7 separate regions of the Homo sapiens genome follow, and regions 2, 3, 4, 5, 6 and 7 are each linked to region 1. The links are contacts of gene promoters, found by promoter capture Hi-C in blood cells and fetal thymus (Javierre and others, 2016). All regions are on one chromosome and are shown on one strand. Each heading gives the region's core, a stretch centred on a gene start or on the middle of the fragment in contact. The rest is flanking DNA. Distances are from core to core; before and after follow the strand shown. Region 1 holds the start of MRPL42 (mitochondrial ribosomal protein L42). Region 2 has its middle 20 kb from the start of PLXNC1. Region 3 holds the start of PLXNC1 (plexin C1). Region 4 overlaps LOC124902986 (a long non-coding RNA gene). Region 5 has its middle 58 kb from the start of PLXNC1. Region 6 holds the start of CEP83 (centrosomal protein 83). Region 7 overlaps EEA1 (early endosome antigen 1).

What was found. Contacts are between HindIII fragments. The CHiCAGO score rates a contact against its expected background, and 5 or more counts as called.
Region 2: a fragment that was not itself captured here is called in contact with the fragment with the promoter of MRPL42 in region 1 in 1 of 17 cell types (fetal thymus); the score reaches 7.8 in fetal thymus.
Region 3: a contact is called between the fragment with the promoter of PLXNC1 here and the fragment with the promoter of MRPL42 in region 1, in 10 of 17 cell types (naive CD8 T cells, total CD8 T cells, non-activated CD4 T cells and 7 more). The highest score is 8.3, in naive CD8 T cells.
Region 4: a contact is called between a fragment that was not itself captured here and the fragment with the promoter of MRPL42 in region 1, in 5 of 17 cell types (non-activated CD4 T cells, activated CD4 T cells, naive CD4 T cells and 2 more). The highest score is 7.6, in non-activated CD4 T cells.
Region 5: a contact is called between a fragment that was not itself captured here and the fragment with the promoter of MRPL42 in region 1, in 3 of 17 cell types (fetal thymus, total CD4 T cells and activated CD4 T cells). The highest score is 6.0, in fetal thymus.
Region 6: the fragment with the promoter of CEP83 here is called in contact with the fragment with the promoter of MRPL42 in region 1 in 1 of 17 cell types (total CD8 T cells); the score reaches 5.4 in total CD8 T cells.
Region 7: a fragment that was not itself captured here is called in contact with the fragment with the promoter of MRPL42 in region 1 in 5 of 17 cell types (naive CD4 T cells, non-activated CD4 T cells, fetal thymus and 2 more); the score reaches 9.6 in naive CD4 T cells.

Annotation. Positions count from the first base shown.
Region 1 is chr12:93,466,126-93,469,114 of GRCh38, forward strand. It overlaps MRPL42 (mitochondrial ribosomal protein L42), which reads left to right and starts at 1,389. Exons shown (of 6, transcript NM_014050.4): 1 at 1,389-1,429. RefSeq lists enhancers at 1,221-1,280, 1,341-1,610. The HindIII fragment of the contact is 2,939 bases long and covers 1,170-2,989 here.
Region 2 is chr12:94,127,516-94,130,389 of GRCh38, forward strand. No RefSeq gene overlaps it. Among named protein-coding and RNA genes, the nearest start is that of PLXNC1, 20 kb to the right of the region's middle. The HindIII fragment of the contact is 7,025 bases long and covers 1-2,874 here.
Region 3 is chr12:94,147,153-94,149,874 of GRCh38, forward strand. It overlaps PLXNC1 (plexin C1), which reads left to right and starts at 1,425. Exons shown (of 31, transcript NM_005761.3): 1 at 1,425-2,722. The coding sequence starts at 1,820. RefSeq lists silencers at 1,192-1,321, 1,332-1,581, 1,652-1,881, 2,012-2,251 and an enhancer at 2,452-2,551. The HindIII fragment of the contact is 5,941 bases long and covers 1-2,722 here.
Region 4 is chr12:94,107,668-94,110,623 of GRCh38, forward strand. The region is part of intron 1 of LOC124902986 (a long non-coding RNA gene); the gene reads left to right. Among named protein-coding and RNA genes, the nearest start is that of PLXNC1, 39 kb to the right of the region's middle. RefSeq lists an enhancer at 1,635-1,914. The HindIII fragment of the contact is 6,207 bases long and covers 1-2,956 here.
Region 5 is chr12:94,088,898-94,091,642 of GRCh38, forward strand. No RefSeq gene overlaps it. Among named protein-coding and RNA genes, the nearest start is that of PLXNC1, 58 kb to the right of the region's middle. The HindIII fragment of the contact is 6,898 bases long and covers 1-2,745 here.
Region 6 is chr12:94,458,314-94,461,279 of GRCh38, forward strand. CEP83 (centrosomal protein 83) reads right to left here and starts at 1,554. Exons shown (of 17, transcript NM_016122.3): 1 at 1,244-1,554. It overlaps CEP83-DT (CEP83 divergent transcript), which reads left to right and starts at 1,690. Exons shown (of 1, transcript NR_027035.1): 1 at 1,690-2,966. RefSeq lists an enhancer at 1,971-2,020. The HindIII fragment of the contact is 10,845 bases long and covers 1-2,966 here.
Region 7 is chr12:92,781,330-92,784,200 of GRCh38, forward strand. EEA1 (early endosome antigen 1) reads right to left here. Exons shown (of 29, transcript NM_003566.4): 23 at 621-806. Among named protein-coding and RNA genes, the nearest start is that of PLEKHG7, 80 kb to the left of the region's middle. The HindIII fragment of the contact is 1,541 bases long and covers 790-2,330 here.

The sequences.
Region 1 (2,989 bases), core at 139-2,638:
CTGGGTTTGCATACAGTGAAGAACAAGATAGACATATGTCTCTGTCTTCAAGGAGCTTACATTATCCAGCATAAGAGACATTAAACGAGGTTGGGTGTGGTGGCTCACGCCTGTAATCCAGCCCTTTGAGAGGCCGAGGTGGGCATATCACCTGAGGTAAGGAGTTCGAGATCAGCCGGGCAAACATGGCGAAACCCCATCTCTACTAAAAATACAGAAATTAGCTGGGCGTGGTGGTGGCCACCTGTAATCCCAGCTAATTAGGAAGCTGAGGCAGGAGAATCGCTTGAAGCTGAGAGGCGGAGGTTGCAGTGAGCTGAGATCATGCCACTGCACTCCGGCCTGGGCGATAGAGCAAGACTCCGTCTCAAAAAAAAAAAAAAAAAGAAAGAGACATTCAACGAGCAAACAAATAATCAATATAAAGTCAGGTAATGGTAAATATTCTGAAGGAAAATAAAGCGGGGCATGGAATAAGGGTGGGTGAGGCTATTTTAATGGTGTGGTCCTTTCTAAGATGATATTTGAGAAAGACCTGTAAGGTCATGAGAAGAGGTCAGAGAAGCACATTGCTGGCAATGGGAACAGAGAGTGCAAAGGCCCAGAGGTCTTTCCTTCCTCCTAAGATGGAAAGCGAGGTCCAAGATTCTGCATATTTACTTCCTCCCATAATAGGTAGCCAGCACAGTTCTGAGGGCACAGTGCCAGGTTTTCAGAGTGGAGGTTCTCTTCAGGTTCTGATTTCAAACGTCCAAATCCTAGCCTCCACATTTCAGGGCTTCTCTGGAATGTCTCTTCCCCTGGGAAACTTTAACTCATCTACTAAAGAGCAATCTACGATTTCTCTGAATATTAACATAATTTTTTTAAAAAGTACTTATAGGTTTGCATGGTGGCTCATGCCTGTAATTCCAGCACTTTGGGACGCCGAGGCAGGAGGATTGCTTGAGACAAGCCTGGGCAACATACCGAGACCTCGTCTCTACAAAAATATTAAAAAATTAGCTGGGTGTGGTGGTGTGCGCCTGTAGTACCAGCTACTCAGGAGGCTGAGGTGGGAGGCTCTCTTGGGCCCAGGAGGTAGAGGCTGCAGTGAGCCGTGAGGGAGCCATTGCACTCCAGTCTGGGTGACAGAATGAGACTGCCTCACAAAAAAAAAAAAAAAAAAAAGCTTGTTACTTTCTAAGGGTATGTGTTTGGGGCAGTGATTTTGTTTTTCTGGGCACCTTAGTAACACTGCGGCCACGCTTCCCCAACTAAAGGTAAAAGTCCATAGCAACAATCCTCCCTTTCTCTCTGCACCCGGGCCGCTTTCCCGCGGAGACTACATTTCCCAGAATGCCCCGCGGGCTGGGACGGCGCGCGCAGCGCTGTTTCGTGGGACCAGGATTGAAACAAGATGGCGGGTTCGTGGTGAGAAGCCGTCAAGGTAACCGCTTCCCTCTACTCCTCCTGTCGAGGACTTCCTCGAAACTGGGCAGTCCCACAGTGTTGGTCGGCAGTTGTAGAGGTCTCCCGCCTGTCGTTCCCGGCAGGGCGAGGTTGCCTGCATCCCCAGCCTTTGTCCTTCCTGCAGAAGAGCCGGCATGTGGCTGCGCGTTTCTTATAGCGCCCCCTTTGTTCCCTGGCGGACGCCCGTGGGGAGGTGATGCAGCTTGTGGCTCTAGGGACTCCTTTAGGTCGAAGAGTTCTGGTGCTCTTGGTAGCCTGTTCCTCAAACCTCTGACCCTCAGAGGCTCTGTAGCTTTTGTTTTGGGGTTGAATTCCGGGCTGAGGGACTTGATCTCTGAAATGATCTTCCTGGGGTGAATAATCTGACTCCCAGCAGGGCGTGCTTTTCTCTGGGCTTCGGACAGAGGGGACCTAATTTCCCCCAAGATGTTTTATTCGTGGTCAGAAGTCATGGGTTTACGTCCCACGCATGTATTAAGCAGCGATATACTGAGCAAGTAATCGATTGACCTCTCTGAGCCTTTGTTCTTAATCTGAAATGGAGATGCTGCTTCACACACTTGTGAAAGTCAGAGCACATATTGTATATGAAAGTGGGTTGTAAACTAAAAAGCACACCTATGAGCTCAGGGTTAACGGTGTTAATGTACTGGCAGTGCAAGGTATCAGTGTGAGTGGTTTAGACTAGCAAATAAGAGGGCCTGTGTCCTAATTCTCTTTTATCACTATTGGGGGGAAGGGCACGGATACTCATTGAAGACTATTAAAAACAAGATTTAACAATGGTTATTTGTCATTTATTCACAACAGGCCATGAAGATTGTGGTTTTCCCCATTTTGTCATTGGAGAAACTGAGGATCGTTTAGTTAATGACTTGTTTAAAGTTTCCCAATTTGGCAGTGACTGACTCTAAAGTCCTTGGAAGCAAGACGTTTAAATTTTGTACTTTAGTTTCTTCATGAATCAGAATAAAGATACCTCACATGATTAATACGAGAGCAAAATGAAATGGTGGTGAAAGTACGTTGGAAAGTTAAAGACTTTGTACACATATAAGATGGTGAAATTTTATCTGGGACTTGAGGGCATTTATGAGTTCCTCCAATTGAGTAATAGGCTAAGGATAGGCCTTGTTTGATATTTCTTTATTATTATTATTATTATTAATGGCTCAGGGCAGACAACTATTTCATTTAATCAGAAACAGGATAGTACTGTAAATGATGTAGTATCTTGTGTATGGAACCTTGGAGGGTGTACACAGCCACACTAGCATTAAAAGAATGAATACTCTGTGTACCATTTGTGAGTGACTGTTTCAAGAGTAATTACACATTTACTGAGTATTCATTAAGTGGAAGGAGCTGCACTGGGTCCTGCAGAGAAGTTTGTATCTAAGATAAATAGTAATGGACATAGTTCCAGTGGTTCTGATCTTATATTCTGTCCATGTCGCTCTTCGTCCTGTTGTTCAATCATGTGGAATTGCCAAGTTGTTTAAAAGCATTGCTTCAGTTGACTTCTAGGCAGTGATTC
Region 2 (2,874 bases), core at 28-2,527, 660 kb after region 1:
TGACAATTTTCCTACATCACTAAGAAGTTGTGGACCGGTGGAGGTTGAAAGTGTTGATTAAATTAAGGCTTGGAATTACCTGTGGATTTTAATTACCATTCTACCACTGTCCCAGTGTCCTCTGTCTCCCCACCGCCACGCTCTCCTGTAGCTCTAATGAGACACTTATCAGATGCTATTTTTGTTTGTTAGTTATCTTTGCTCTGCATACGGTCTTCCCACAGAAACTGTGTTCTCCTTCTCTTGTGTTGCCCCTGGTGCTTGGCAGACAATAGATCCCCCATAAATAGGTGTGGCTGAACTGAATCACTGTCTATGGTACATACCCAGTGGTCCTTCATGGTTGAAGATGTCAGTGCTAACATGATGATTTTCTATATTGGATTTCTTACGTCTATTTGGATTTTATTACGCAACATTTCTTCTACAAATGCTGAACACTATGTACCAGGCATCATACTAGATATTAGAGACAAAGATGAATATAATATGAACTTCCTTCAAGGAGTTCTGAGGTCACAGGGACACTAGACAAATACATATCGCGATGGAGTGTAACAAGAGCAAGTGTAGGCATATGGACTAGGTATGTCGGTGACACCCAGAAAGGGCTGGTCATTTCTGGAGAATGAAAATGAGAGTCAGAGAAGATGCTGGAGTGGGAACCCAAAGCATGGGTTGGATTTAGGCAATGGCAAGAGGGACGGGGAGAATTCCAGCATCAGAGAACTGTGACTCTTTTAGGATGTAACAATACACAAGCATTCTTTACGTACCGGACACTCATTTCTTCCCTGCTAAGAGAACCTAGTTGTGTATCTGGGATAATCTTAAGGAAGGTAAGTTCCTCCTCCAGACTTGGGCTTATGAGCCAATCATGAGCCAATTATGGTCATTCTTTTTCTCTTCACCAGACATTGGTATAGTGTGGGCATGTGACCACATTCTGGTCAATGACGTCTAAGGGGGAAGTCTGCTCAGGGATTTCTGTTTGGGCAAAAAAAAAAGACAGAGTCTTGCTAGGAGAAAGTAGCCTTCCCCTCGTTTTGAAAACAAATACAATGTTTACAGTTGTGGCAGTTATCTTGTGACAGGAGAAAGATATTAAAAGCCTGGAGGGGCTCTTTAATAGTAACACTGAATAGCAACCAGTACTAGCAACTGGGCTCCTTCTTGTGCAAGAAAAGATTAACCTCTACTTGCCTATGTTCTAAGTAATTAGGGGTTTTTTCCCCTTATAGCTAAACACATCACAACCGATGTATACAGCTTCTGAAAACTATTTTGCACAGGTCTCCCCAGTGGGTATCAATGGGGTCACAACTAATACCCCCTGAGTTTTTCTGCCTGATTATCCCTAACTTGTATAACTCTAGGACTCAACCTCTTCCTCCTTCAATCTCTCCAGTCATTTTGGGGAGTCCCCAGGGGAATATCTTTGAGAATGTAGCTTCTTCCCTGATTCTCTCTATCCTCCCTTTGATGCAAGGAGAGTAAGAAAGCCCTTCTCTCTGACTCTGTGTTTCACTCTGCCACTAGACCCGAAGGTGAATGGGTCTAGCTCCATTCATGGAATGGGACCCCAAGATAAATGCCCTGAATGTCATCAACTTTTGGTCAGCGTATACCTTCTAGCTGCTGACTACCCCTGCTCTCTATTAAGGAATGTCTGAGGAATAGTAAGCATACTAATTTCATCTACTTTCCTTTGTGTCTTTCCATAGAAGGCTAGCATCAACCTCTTCCTTTAGACAGACCAAAACAGCAACAATCATCTGCAGGCTTATCAGCCTGTGCCAATAGATCCCCAGAGTTCAGATTAGCTGGCCCCAAGGAGCTACTCTTCATCTAGCTCAGCCCAGAGCCCAGTCACATGTGCACATGAAGGAATGGAAGACACAATATTGCAAAAATGGTCAGGCAGGGACCTTATATATCAAGCTAAGAAATATAAGCTGTATCCTCTAAGTCAGGGCTTCCCAATAAGTGTTCCATAGAGTGTTGAGATACTACCCTGCCCTCTCAGCCCTTGGGACTGCTGGGTGGAACCTGACAGAGGGAGCTCCTAGGCTGGTCACCTCTGGCAGCCAGTGCCCTTGTTTGGTGTAGGAAGGTATTGCCAAGAAGAGTGGGGCCCAATGAAGCCATGGTATAAAACAATTGGGAAACAATGGGGAGTCATTGAAGGATTTTTAACAGGAAGTAATCCCATCAGCTTTCCATATCGGAAGACAATGAAAGGGCAATGCAAAGGCTGGGTTGGAGGAGGTGGGCAATGAACCTGGGACCAGGACCACCAGTCTCACCTAAAATAGCCTAGTGATGAAATGATGAGAGGGCAAGCTAAGGAGTAGGAAAGAGAGAGGAGGGAGGATCTGGGAAATAAGAAATCTTTTTTTTTTAATTATACTTTAAGTTCTAGGGTACATGTGCACAACATGTAGGTTTGTTACATATGTATACATGTGCCATGTTGGTGTGCTGCACCCGTTAACTCGTCATTTACATTAGGTATATCTCCTAATGCTATCCCTCCTCCCTCCCCAACCCCACGACAGGCCCCGGTGTGTGATGTTCCCCACCCTGTGTCCAAGTGTTCTCATTGTTCAATTCCCACCTATGAGTGAGAACATACAATGTTTGGTTTTCTGTCCTTGTGATAGTTTGCTGAGAATGATGGTTTCCAGCTTCATCCATGTCCCTACAACTCATCCTTTTTTATGGCTTCATCCATGTCCATGAACTCATCCTTTTTATGGCTGCATAATATTCCATGATGTATATGTCCCACATTTTCTTAATCCAGTCTATCATTGATGGACATTTGGGTTGGTTCCAAGTCTTTGCTATTGTGAATAGTGCCGCAATATACAT
Region 3 (2,722 bases), core at 175-2,674, 680 kb after region 1:
CCCAACGATCCATAGAGGTCCTCAGCACCCTCCACTCCTATGCACCCCCTGGCTCATCTGCCAGACTGTAAGGGTGCTGATGGTGCCCGCAGCTGCCCCGGGAAGCTGGGAGGCATTTGTGCATCCTCTGGGAAGCCCCATTCCGAGAAATCATGAACCTATTCCCCAGTGGGCAATGATTCCCTGTGCTTCAGAAATTCTTGGCGGCTGTGGGGGCAACCCAGCTGTTATTCACCCTCTGGGTGAGGTGGTGAGACCTCAGGGGGTCCAAAGGATAAAAGTGGGTAATGATGAGACAGATGGAGAGCCTCGAGGGAAATACGGGGACTTGGGTCTAATAGTAGAAAGCAGGGCGGGGGCTGGTTGGTGCATTTAACTTGAGGAACTTTTCAGTCTCACTACAGAGAATGATCTCTGGGGGATTATGGCAATGGCCACAGGTGGCACTTAACTAGAGCCAGGTATGTAAGAGGCCCTGGGGCTAGATATGGATTCGAATCTCGGCTCTGATATCTACCAGCAGTAGAATGCCAGCACGTTCCACAACCTTTCTATAACCATTCTCCTGGACTACTAAGTAGGGATGACAATAACAGTCACTAATTAATAGGGCTGTTATGAGAATTATGAGTCTTAACCCATGTGGTGAGTTCACAAGCGCACCCGGCACGTAGTAAGTGCTCAGTAAATGTTAGCCCCGCTCATTAGGTTAGATGGTGAGCAGAACTTTCCAAGTGCTAGGCTTGAGAGCCTGGGACTCTGTTGCCAAGGGAGATTAGAGAACCTTTGCAAATATGGGCGCTCCGGCCCTGGGGATTGTCCAGAACGAGAGTGTGGCGCCTGCCTTTCTGCCACCTCACTCATCCGACCCGGGGAAACCCACACCCTGTCACAGGGGCGCCTTGGTCCCCGGAGTCTCCGGCTCGGCCATGTCTCCCGCGCGCCTCCCCGGGGCCTCCCTCTCGCCGCTCCACACCTGTCAGCCGCTCTCGCAGCAGCCCTGTGGCCCGAGCCCGGGGCCTCAGCTGCAACCCCTTCGCACCCTGGATCCTCGCTCCGCGCGCCTGGCGTATCCCCGACCCGGCTGCTGTCGTAAACAAAACCGGGCGTTGGAGCAGCACCGCGGGCGGACGGGCGCGGGAGCCCGCTCCGTGCGCCGTTAGCGCGCCCCGGGAGCCCCAGGCGAGCCAAGGGGGCGATGGTGGCGGCCGCGGCGGCCGCGGCGGGCGGCTGAGCTTTGTTATGAATAGATGAAAGAGGCCACCTACACAGTAACCCAAATTACGAGACCTCCCTCCTCCCTATCTCACCGAATCAAGAGGGGAGGGGAGATGGGCGTGGAGGGAGGGCGGGCGGGCGGGCAGGAGGCGGAGGGCGGAGGAGGAAGAGAGGATGAGGAAGGGGGCCAGTTGCATCCCACTTTCACAATGGGAAAGTGAAACGCACAAGCGCACCCAACCTCTCCAGCCCTCCCCGCCCGCCTCGCTCCTCTCCGCCCGTCCCCTCCCTTCCCCTCCGCGCCTCCCCGCGAGCGCCAGCGCTGCACACAGGAACTCTCCGGCGAAGGAGGGCGAGGAGGAAACGGTGCCGGAGCGCGCAGGGCTTGCTGCCGCCACCGCCGCTGCACAGGCTGCCGGAGCGAGCCTGCCGCGCGCCGCCCTCCCCGCTCTCCTTCCTGGGCGAGCTGCGGGGATGGGGCGGCCGCGGGAGCCCGAGCGCGCGCAGGAACCGCCGCCGCCGCCGCCCGCGTCTCCGTTGCCGCGCGCCTGAGCCGCCGTCGCCGCCGCGCGCCCTGCCCGGGGGCGGCCCCCCCAGCCCCATGGAGGTCTCCCGGAGGAAGGCGCCGCCGCGCCCCCCGCGCCCCGCAGCGCCACTGCCCCTGCTCGCCTATCTGCTGGCACTGGCGGCTCCCGGCCGGGGCGCGGACGAGCCCGTGTGGCGGTCGGAGCAAGCCATCGGAGCCATCGCGGCGAGCCAGGAGGACGGCGTGTTTGTGGCGAGCGGCAGCTGCCTGGACCAGCTGGACTACAGCCTGGAGCACAGCCTCTCGCGCCTGTACCGGGACCAAGCGGGCAACTGCACAGAGCCGGTCTCGCTGGCGCCCCCCGCGCGGCCCCGGCCCGGGAGCAGCTTCAGCAAGCTGCTGCTGCCCTACCGCGAGGGGGCGGCCGGCCTCGGGGGGCTGCTGCTCACCGGCTGGACCTTCGACCGGGGCGCCTGCGAGGTGCGGCCCCTGGGCAACCTGAGCCGCAACTCCCTGCGCAACGGCACCGAGGTGGTGTCGTGCCACCCGCAGGGCTCGACGGCCGGCGTGGTGTACCGCGCGGGCCGGAACAACCGCTGGTACCTGGCGGTGGCCGCCACCTACGTGCTGCCTGAGCCGGAGACGGCGAGCCGCTGCAACCCCGCGGCATCCGACCACGACACGGCCATCGCGCTCAAGGACACGGAGGGGCGCAGCCTGGCCACGCAGGAGCTGGGGCGCCTCAAGCTGTGCGAGGGCGCGGGCAGCCTGCACTTCGTGGACGCCTTTCTCTGGAACGGCAGCATCTACTTCCCCTACTACCCCTACAACTACACGAGCGGCGCTGCCACCGGCTGGCCCAGCATGGCGCGCATCGCGCAGAGCACCGAGGTGCTGTTCCAGGGCCAGGCATCCCTCGACTGCGGCCACGGCCACCCCGACGGCCGCCGCCTGCTCCTCTCCTCCAGCCTAGTGGAG
Region 4 (2,956 bases), core at 88-2,587, 640 kb after region 1:
GAGAACCCAAATCTTTTATAATGGGCAGTCAGCATGCCTGCTCTTTGCTCCAGGAGAAGATACTATCTCTGTCTTCTAAGGCTGTTTGCTAATAAGCATCTTTGAAAAGATAACCCACAACAAAAAGTCAGTGCTCCTGCTCATAAGATGTGCAGAAGTAAGAGCGATCCGTGGAGAATTGCCTCTCAAGAGCATGTGGTAAGAACTTTATTATTACTATGGGAAAATGAACTTATACTACATAACTTTCTTCTGGTGACTTTAAAATTGATAGAAATTAGAGCAAATCAGGACATGGACTAAGGAAAAGTTACAAAGACTAATGGCAAGTCAAGGAATCCGAGTTAACATTCGGTGACTAGACTCCCAAATGCGTTTCACAAATGGGTTTCCAGAAAAACTGCTGTCAGCAATTGATTGTGATATGGGGCAAATGAGTTTGCAATTTCATGATGAATAATCTATCACTCCCTATCTTAGAAACTCAGGCATTCCATCTTTTTTGACAGGCAGCATGTATATTCTATTGCCAGGAAGGAAGGCAGTTGTCAAATTCCTAATTTTTCTCTTTGAAAAATTAACATTTAACTCAAACGTAAGATCTAGAGGAACACATAAGATCTTAATTACAAAGTGCAATCCAAGATTTGCACTAATTAATATGCTGATGAAAAATTCATTGAAATTCAGAGAAGAACCAAGAGGGAAAAAATTGGCCAGTGTTAACACTGAGTTCTATAAAATGTGTAAGTCTATCCAAATAGGCAGCTGCCTTTCTCGGATAATTATCATTTCATCATTCATGATTATTTTATTTGTAAGACTTTAGTTGCACATCCAAAACTATGCAGACAGAATATTTCCTTAAACTTTCTGATTTCTAACAGTTAAATTATACTAGTATATGAGGGACTTTTAAAGACCAGCTTAGTTACCTGAAATATGGGGGTTTTTTGTTTTTTTGTTTTTGTTTTTGTTTTTTTTTTAAGTGAGAGAAGCCATGTGCTTGATTCCTGGTTTTGGCATTCACTAACTGTGACCTCCCGCAGGTTGCTTAAGCCCTTTGAGCCTGTTCCTCCTATCCAAATGGGGACAATAATAATGCATGAGGTTGTGGTAAGGAATGGCTATTGTTGTGAATCAGTTGCATGCCTTCCTTTTAGTCTTCATCACACCAGACCTGGTACTAGATGGGGACTGAAATATAGTAACTGATTTGTTATTGATACAGCTGGGTTGATGAATAAGCTAGTAAGTACTCAGGCTGAAAACTGGGCTTCCACCCTCCCCAAGCCCCCAGGTCCTGAGACCTGGGAGGATAGAGATTGTATCTGCAGATCCACACCCAGGCAGCCTCAGGGAGGATGCCAGGCTGCCCACTGCCCCCCACCCCCGACCCCCATCCTCATCCATGAGGATTAGGAAAGAGAGCAGCCAGTGTAGTGAGAGGGTAAGGAAGGTCTCCTGGGTATCTGGAACTAGGACTGGAGAGGGGCCTCAGCTTGAGGCAGGCAGCATGGGTCCCTTTATGAGACCAGAGCTTTGCAGCGTGGAGGAGGAGGGAGAAGGGAGGGGTAAGGTTGTGTTCCCCTGGCCCCACCAGACAATCTCACCAATCTCATAACTGCTTCCACTCAATGGAGAGCGATCATGGGGGCAGATGTTCCTTCTGACTCATGAAGTTTCCATCTCCTGAGCAACTGAGTAAAAGCGCCCCTCCCAGGCCTCTCTGAGTCATCCAGCCCCCACGTGGCCAGTCCCCCACATGGCCAGCCCCCTCCACGGCCATCAGAGTCTCTTTCCAGAGTGAAAATTTAGTCAGTATCTCAGAGGATAAAGTCCAGCCAGACACATGAGGACTTCAGTGGTATGAACCCTGTTTCATTTCCCACGTCACATGCCCTTTGCCACACCACCCTGCCACTCCCAGCCCACCACTCTCAACCCCAAACAAGCCGTGCACCTGTTGTGGCCCAGCCCTCCCACCTAACATACCCTTGCCCCCTGTCCATTGGTCCACAGTACTCATCCTTCATGAACTACTTTAAACACCTCCTCTGCCTTGAACTGTCTCTGACTCTCACCTCCCAAGGCTGGTTTGCTCCTTATCTCCTGGGGGTCCCACACCTTGGTTTCTCTAAGCACGCACGCAGATGCCAGCTGTCTGGATTCAAATCCAGTACCTGTGTGACCTTAGGCAAGTTACATAAGTTCGCTGCTCAGTTTCCTTATTGGCAAAATAGGGATGACAATTGTACTGCATGGTGGTTATAAAGATTATACAAAAATACAAAAAACACTTATAAATTGTACTTGGCCCATACTAAGCACTTTATAAGCGTTGGCTGTTATAATCATTATTACTATTATTTACCAAGTTGGTGATTTTTCTACATCCTAATACCACTAGGTCTATTATTATTTCCTTTAAATCAACTTTATCAGTCTCCTGAGCAGTGTCTGTGGAATTACAGGTTGGAAGGGATAGTTATGTTTATATAATACAATTGAAAATAAAATACATAATGATTTAAATAAAACCTGATCATCTGAACTCCACGCCCGCCGTTCCTCACCATTATTTCCTCTCCAAGTACACCGGGAATAACACTGTTTTATGATGTTACTCAATCATTCATTCATCTGTCTGCAGAGATTATAAGTTGCATGAAGGCAGGCACCGAAGCTGGATTCATGTTTTACTCTGCAAACAGTTTACAAGTGCCCTAGACCAGGGGTCCCCAACCCCCAAGCCACGAACTGGTACCAGTTTGTGGCCTATTAGGATCTGGGCCACCAGCAGGCGGTGAGTGCAGGTGAGCAAGCATTACTGCCTGAGCTCCGCCTCCTGTCAGCTCAGCTGCAGCATTAGATTCTCACAAAAGCCCGAACCCTATTGTGAACTGCTGATGCGAGGGATCTAGGTTATGCGCTCCTTATGAGAATCTAATCCCTG
Region 5 (2,745 bases), core at 64-2,563, 620 kb after region 1:
CTGATATTATAATGTGCCCTTTTGTCATTTTAACATCTTTTAATTTAGAATGAATTTTATAGCCTATGGAAAGTCATCATGTATTTGGCAGTGTTTTCCTTTTCTTACTGATACATAAAATAATGATATATCTATTATCAACGATGTCTTCAATTCAACAAAGTATGGTATTTAAAATGTGACTCTATCCTGTTCCAGGACTGATATAAGAAATAACTACAGTCCTACATGGCTTAACAACAGGATACATTGTGAAAAAAATGCATTGTTAGGCGATTTCCTCATGTGCAAACCTCATAGAGTGTACTCACACAAATCTAGATGGTACAGCTACTACACACTTAGGCTGGCTGTAAGGCATCACCTCTTGCTCCTAGGCTGCTAACCTGTACAGCATGTTACTTTACTGAACACTGCAGGCAACTATAACACAATGGTAAGTATTTGTGCATCTGAACATATCTAATCACAGAAAGGTACAGCAAAAATATAGTTTTATAATCTTATGGGACCACCATAGCATAGGCAGTCCATCATTGACCAAAACATCGTTATGTGGTGCATGACTGTATTTAAAGACCACCTCCATGCTTTCTACAAAACTATTATGATACATCATGCATTCTCTGGTTTAATGCCCCTAAAACAAAACTGGCACAATAAATCTCTAGTTCCCTACTTTTAGCTCTTTTCTATGTCCAAGAGGGTGAGTTGCACACCATAATGGCTCCACAAATTGTTCCTGAAAATCATTGAAAATAATTTAAAATTAAGAATACAAAACCAGGCATAAACATTTGGAAGGGACTCCAGCAACTGAATGGCTCTGAGGCTTAAACTTCACTAGGCTCTAGGTGTGGCCATGTGTCTGGCCAGTGAAATGCGAACAGAAGTGTGGAGTGAGACTTATGGGAAGTCTCTTTACAGAGAGAAAAGAGGCCTCTCTTCTTTCCTTCCTCCATCCCACAATCTAGAACTCACGTGTGGTGGCCTGGGCTCCAGCAACTATATTGGACAAAGAAAATAAAGGACATAGCCCAGATGGAGGGACAGAAAGTCTAAAGGAATCTAAGACTCTGATGACTGTGAAGCTGCCTGCCAACCCCAGGCTGCTTCCCTCCCAGACCTCTTGGGTTGTGAAGGAATGAAGCATTGATTGCTCAAACCACCATCTGCGGTTTCTCTTGTTATCAGCCAAACACAGTCCACCACTGACACAGCATCATAAAGTATCTTGGTCCATACAAGAAGGGCATACGTTGCGGCAAGGATGGAGGTCATGGAATGAGCCTAAGACTGAAGGTCAGAAACTCTCTTTCTAGTCTTTGCTACTCCAGTCCTGTCTTTAGCTTGCTCCAGGAACTTAAGAAACCCACTTAAGCTGTATTTACTTTAAGTTTCCTCATTTAAAAAAAAAAAATACAACTTTCTCCCATGGAGTTATGCTAGTAAATCATATACAAATAAGAAAGGACTTTGAGATGGTGAAATCACACATCTTTGTTCTGGTTAATGGTAGCAGTGATGCACTGAGAGAGAATCTTTTCATGGTCCCGTTCCTGCTGAATGAGTTCAGATCTAGACCCCCATATCCTGGGCAGTGCCAATGTTAAAAATCAAACCATAAATAGTGGTTCATGGAGTAGGCACTTAAAAAGTCTTCAAATTATGAGGCAGTTGCAAAGAGTGATCAGTCAGTTCCCACATTCTCCAAGGATCGTGATTAGGAAAAGAATTTCCTATTTGGGTATCATCTCAGAGATGGTTCCCTAGGAACAGAGCCTATGAAATTGGTATTCTCGTGTGAACGGATTTCAGGAGAAGTATGTAAAGGAGTTAGGGAAGCAGGTGAGACAGAGGAAGAAGATAGAGATGTGAGTTCAGCTGAAGTCTAGCCTCAGCCCCATCCCACAGGGAGCTCTGGAGCGTGACCGGCACCAAGGAATTGTCCGACCTCAAGGCAAGGGGACCAGGCCTTTATAACCCTGTGCCTGCCAGTCACTGGTGCAGACCACCCCTGAGGGTGAGGGGTTCTCCCAAGCATCTCTGGCTGAGGAGGTTCCCACTGGCGGAGGACGATTCTCCAGAAAGAGCGTGCCTGAGATCAGGCAGCAGCCAGCACTCCCAGTAGCTGTGTGGTGGTGCACTAGTCTAATAAGGGGACCTGGGTGTGCATCCCCGCATCTACCACAGGAACAGAATGCTGGAGTATTTGGGGAGGAAGCTCCTGACCACTTCTCTAGAAAGTATTATTCATACCTTTCAAGACTTCCCAACCTGCTACGCTATAGACCTCTGTTTGGGGCAACAATAGGTGTGCTCTCAGTGATAAATTCTGAGCTTGTTCTTTAATAGGCAACAGGCAAGGAAAACAAGGAAAGTGTTACTGTCATTCAGGCTTGGCTTCCAGGATTTCTCCACAGCCTTGGGGATTTGAAGGTGTTGGTGAATCCTACTTTTTCTCTTCTTTGGATTCCAAACCAATGGAGAAATCATCCAGGAGGATCAAAGATCGCACGAATGGCATTCTTGCCCTGAAGGCTGGTTTTAAGACTTGTCCTGGATCCAAGACCAAAGGGAGTATCTTCTCGTTCCCCTTGATTTGAAGTTGCACCCTGGTCACAGAGCAAGCAATGGTGGGGCAGGCACTCTCAGCTGAGTGGAGGGGAGGGGGATGGGTGCCATTGGGGGCAGGCAGAAAGTGTTGAGGAGGGGGACTTCATGCCCTCTCCCCATTTTCCCAAG
Region 6 (2,966 bases), core at 304-2,803, 990 kb after region 1:
CGCACTTCATCTGATCTGGAAAGAAAACACTCAAAGTAAGGGGAATACCCAGCATACTCTGTCCTAAATAACCAAAGGACAACTCAAAACCATTTGCAACTCTCAGGAGAGTCCTGTGTGACACTTATAATTTAAAGCATTCTGGCCTGGTGCGGTGGCTCACACCTGTAATCCCAGCACTTTGGGAGGCCGAGGTGGGCGGATCACCTGAGGTCGGGAGTTTGAGACCAGCCTGGCCAACATGGTGAAACCCCATCTCTACTAAAATAAAAAAATTAGCCGGGCATGGTGGCACGCACCTGTAATCCCAGCTACTCGGGAGGCTGAGGCAGGAGAATCGCTTGAACCCAGGAGGCGGAGGTTGCAGTGAGCCGAGATCGCGCTACTGCACTCCAGCCTGGGCGACAGAGTGAGACTCAGTCATAAATAAATAAATAAAGCATTCTAACAATTCTGAACAAACTGAGTTTGAAATCAAACCTCAATACAAAAGGTGAGTATTAATTCTAACCACTTACAGGCTAAATTCATAAATATGGAAAATTCTAAATCCAGGTAACTGTAGGATAGATACCTTTAATTGTGTTTTAGTTAAATGTCAGACTTGTTTACAGACATGTTGCTTGGTAACAGAAGCACTGCTTTAACAACCCACTCTGTTTTAGAGCTGCTTAAAGTCTGAACAGATTATGAAGTATATATCATATACACGAAATTCAGACAAGTCTTTCCTTATCCTAGAGATCTGTAAGATTTGAAAGAGCTTCCTCATTTCAGCTAACTAAAGGCTTTACAAATACTTAGCAGTGGATATTCTTAAGAGCAAAATGCCCATTGATTATGGTCAAAAGTTGGACACTGAGGATTAACCAAAGTATTTAAACCCAGCATATGCTAACATATTTTAGGTGTTTATCTCAGTAATGACAGTCGACATCACTGTTCATTCAAATTGTCTTCAAAGCCAAGGAAAATGGTAGCATAGCTTTTTCATCGTAAATTAAGCTGGAGGTACTTAAACGTCTGGCCAATTACCAAACTGGCTACACAACCACCAAGCCAGAGTGCATCCAAAAGCTCCATGAAGAGTTTCACGTGCGTCTCTCTGCCTACTTTTCTAGCACGAGCTTCCACTACTTTAACAGGAAAATAAAAAAAGGATTCAAGGGCAGTTTGTGGAGGGACAAAATGAGTATTCCAAAATACAAACAAGACACCGTCCCCAGAAAGAGAGGTTACATACCAGACGCACGCACGCTCCTTGCAACCCGCACACGGAAAACTTAAGTGACCGCAGTTCTGGCCGCGCTCGCCACCGGGGACACCTCCACAGCTCCAACCACAGGCACCCACTCAACTCCGCTTACGGAGGCATTGGGACTAAGGGTTACGGTCCTACAGCGGGGTGTCGGCCCAGCGAGAGGAAGAGGGCCGAACGGACCCCTCGGGCTCCCGTCCCTAGGGAAATGTGAAGTATCCCGGGAGAGGTCCGAGGGCGGCGGCGGCGGCGGTGAAAAGCCCCACTCCTCCGCGTGGACCGGGATCCTCAGGGGTGCGGCGCCACCCCACGTGCTGACGTATGGCCCAGAAGCCGCCTCATCGCACCGCCCCACCAGCCTGGAGGAGCGGGCTCTGTCCCTTGGCCCAGCGGCACGCGAAGCAGGAAGTCCCACCCCCCACGCCGACGTCACCCACGCCACCGACGCCGGTTGCTGCCGGAGCCGTTAGAGGGAGGAGACAAACGAACCGAGGCGGGAGCGGCCACGGGTGACAGCGGCAGCGGCGGGGCCGGGCTGCGCTCCCGAAGGCGTTCCTGGAGGGCCCTGGGATGGACTCAGAGATCCCCAGAGCCCCAGGGGACGGAAAATCTAGCCCCGGGCACTTGCCTTGGAGTCTGAGTGATGCGCGTCGTTGGAGCGCGAAGCCGGTCTCCCTAGCCTCCGCCCGACACAGCGTCTCCAGGGGTTTTCCTCCTTTTCGCGCCTCTCCTTCCCTCTTCCCCACACCATTTGAGAGCCTCAAATGGTAGTCCTGCCGCCACCTCTCTCCCTTCGCCAGCCTGCCATCGTCCCCATGGGTGCAGATATGCGCTCCCGAAGCCGCCTGCCTGCCGCGTCTGCCTCGGGCATCAGCCCACGAGTGGGGAGTCGGCTCAGCTTGCCACGAGGGAACCTCGGGTTAGGACCAATCGCCCGGGAGAGAGCCCTCCTCGCCCCCGCACCTCCTGCTCCAAGTCTCCTGTCCTGGTTATCCCAAGTTCAGGGCCCACCTGGGGTCACATGGGGAACTACTTGTCTTAAGGCTGTAAACAATAGTTGGAAGAGGAGTTGCTAGCTTTTGAGAACTTCCATGATCATCCAAAGTCTGAAACAAAGTAGGCGGTCAGCCTTTCAAAATACGTGTTGGAAGAAACAGACACCTTCCCATCCCCAGCGTTTGTTCAGTGCCTTGGTTGGGCTTTGATTCTCACTGCTTTGTGAAGTACAGCTTATTTTTACCCCCAAGATTATGATTTTCAGGCTGTAGTTATTATTGGACAACTGAGAGGTGATTTTGTTGTTGTTGAAATGAGGGAAAACGGGCCATTAGAAAGGACCGTGTCTCTTAAGAGGAGGGAAAAAAAGGACAGCGAGTTGGTAATGGAATGTTGCTGGATGGATTACATAGATGAGACATGGGAGATAGAATAGAGAATCCAGAAATTCTCATGTATGTGTGCGTGTTTAGTATAATAACAGTAGCTCACATTTGCTGAGCATTTGTGTGGCAAGTACTGGAGTACTTTTTCAGGTTATCTTATTTAACTCTAACATTTCTGTAAGGTAGGTGCAATTGTTATCTCCATTTCACAGAGTTGCCCAAAACCATTACTTTTAAACGCTGGAGCCAGACAACTCCAGAAATCTCTGTGGTAGCCAGTAAACTATACATGACAAATTATTGGTCAGTAGGAAAAAGATCATTCG
Region 7 (2,871 bases), core at 310-2,809, 680 kb before region 1:
ATTTAGAATTTACCAAGAATTTCAGGGAATATACACTGCAGAGTAATATCCTGTCAGCTAACAGGAATATATGATTTCAACTATAAAACAAAAAATAAACTCTTTCCTAGGATCTGAATTTTTCTTTCATACAGAATTTAAAGTGATTTTTAAAATGTACTGGTCATATATTAGTAAACCAATGCTTTCAACTTTGAAACTTAATAAACTCCTTAGACAATCTGGTTCTTAATTTTAAGAATTCTTAACATGTTTAAGAATTATTTCTAGATCTTTTATTATCTCATTCACACATCTAAAGGATAATACGTTATATGAGAAATAGTTGAGGAACTATATTATCTTTTCTGCAATAACCAAGGGTCTATGGTGTGAAAAATTGACTTGTTTGTAAAACTAAAGAGCAGTAAGAAAAAAGGGTAGAAATAACAAGGAGGCCATTAAGAAGTACTTCCTAGCATTAAAATCCCAATGATCAAAAGTGTCAGAAACTAGAGGTCCCTCTGAGAGAGCTGTTGAAAATAAGGATGATGCCTGTACTAAATAAGAGGTTTGACTGGATGATCTCTAAGACAACTGTAACTCTAAGATTGTAGATTTAGGTCAGAAACATGCAATACCTTTTCTTTCTGAATGTCTTGTAGTGCTTTACATCGCTCCTGCAATTGCTGTTCTTTCTTTGCTGAATCCTGCTCCAATGTAGCCTTGGCAGTCTTCAGTTCTTGAATCAATTTATTTTGATTTCCAATTTGATTTCTGTTTGAAATCAAGTCCTCCTGTGCTAGAGAAAGCTTCTCTTCTACAGACTTACAAAAACAATTTTCCCAAATTATTATATGCCATGTTTTTAGTAAATTCAACAGAAACATAGTTAATATAAACATTGTAGAAAGCAATAAACTATAAAAAGATAGCATATTATACCCTTCAGTAAGACAGGTAAAAGAGAAAGAATTCTAAAATATTAACTCTCTTGCTTATAGAAAACATTTATAATATAAAATATTTAGTAAAATGGAAGCAATTCCAAAGCCTCCAAAAATAATCTATTTACTAAATAAATATTTAAAGTATTTGCTGAATGTTGATCACATCTTCAATATTGGCTAGTTGATATGAAAGAATACCAAATAAGTAGGGACCATATCAGATACACTCAGAGAACATATATATGGTTAAAGTCATAAGGCAGTGTGAAAGAAAACAATCTTAAAAGAGATATAATTAAATGCTTCATTATGCATACATATACATTTGGTAGGTTCTATGATGTCCCTTGACATGCTAAAAATATTAATAAATAGTATGGTGTTATGATATAGTGGTTTTTGTCCAGGGTTCCTGAATCACAACTCCCACATCCTTTGTTACAGTTTTTTGTTACAATGTTGGGTATGTTAGGCCTCAGGAAACAGAATCTCGTCTCCTGCCCTTCTTCCACTGGTCCCTAGGCAGGCCTCTAATCTTCTTCCCCACCCCATTTTCTGATTGTGAGTCTTAAGACTCTTCCCTGAAAGGGTCCTGCCTCATACCCTGGGTGAAAGAATGCTTCCATAAAAATCCAAGAGAACTGGGTTTGGGGAACTTCTAGATAGCTGAACATACGGAGCCTGGAGGGTGGCATGCCCGGGGAGGGCACGGAAGCTCTGTGCCCCTTCCCCCATATCACCCAACACATCTCTTCATCTGTATTCTCTGTAATATCCTTTATAATAAATCAGTAAATGTAAGTAAGTTTTCCCTGAGTTCTGTGAGCTGTTCAGCAAACTAACTGAACCCAAAGAGGGTGTCATGAAAACCCCAACTTGAAACTAGCTAGTTGGTCAGAAGTTCTGGAAGCCTGGATTAATGATTGGTGTTTGGAGTTGTAGGGAGCAGTCTTGGGGATTGAGCCCCCAATCTGTGGGATTTGATACTATCTCTAGGGAGATACTGTCAGAATTAAATTGGAAGACACACAGTTGGTGTCTGCTTCTTGGTGTGTGTGGGAAAATCCCCATATGTTTGGTCACAGAAGTCTTCTGTGTTGATGATTGTTGTGGTGTGAGAGTAGGGGAAAAACACAATTTGAGAGAGTTTTTCCTGAAACAAATAGGAAGGATTATTTTGTCATGGAATAAAAATAATAACAACTTCACAGCTGACAACCTGATCAAGTGAACAAAAAGAGAAAATTCAGCCAAACATAGAATGAGGCTCTATCCTGAGAAAGCACACTGTCCTCTTCTCATCTATATCGTAGAAGTAGTGATTGTCATTTAACATAGTCCATAGTTGTTGACTGTTTTAAAGCCCAAGTATTTTGAGAAGAAGAAGTTGGGGAAAGGGGAAGCTTTTTCACTCATGACACTTCAGTTGGGGATAAATATGGTAACAGGTAGATAATGGGTATGGTAGGAACCTTGCCACTCTCAGCTGCTACTGCGAAGAATCAGCAGGGTAAGAGATCCAACTGATCTCTTCCATCAGATCTGGAAAAAGCTGATCTTTCTTATTCTGGAGATACAGCTCCTTTGAAAAGGAGGCAGAAAACGTAATTTAGCAAAGGATCCTTGCTGAGTAGGCTTGTATACAGCAAGTACTCAGTAAAAAAAAAAAGAAAGATGAAATAAATAAATAAAGATCTTATTTATGAGGATTCTTAAGCTTCCTGAAAGTTTACTTCTTACCAGTAACCCAGTTACGTCTTTCTGATATAAATTAAATCTTAATTTTCAATGACTGCCAGTAGAACACTAAACCCCTTGAGGCTTTTTTCAGGGAAGAATTAACATCAGCTAGTTCTTCACTAATCCAGCACCTAACCATTAATTGAGAACACTGCTAAGACAGAACAGGAGGGTACAAGCTGGTCTTTGACTTAAGGGAGTT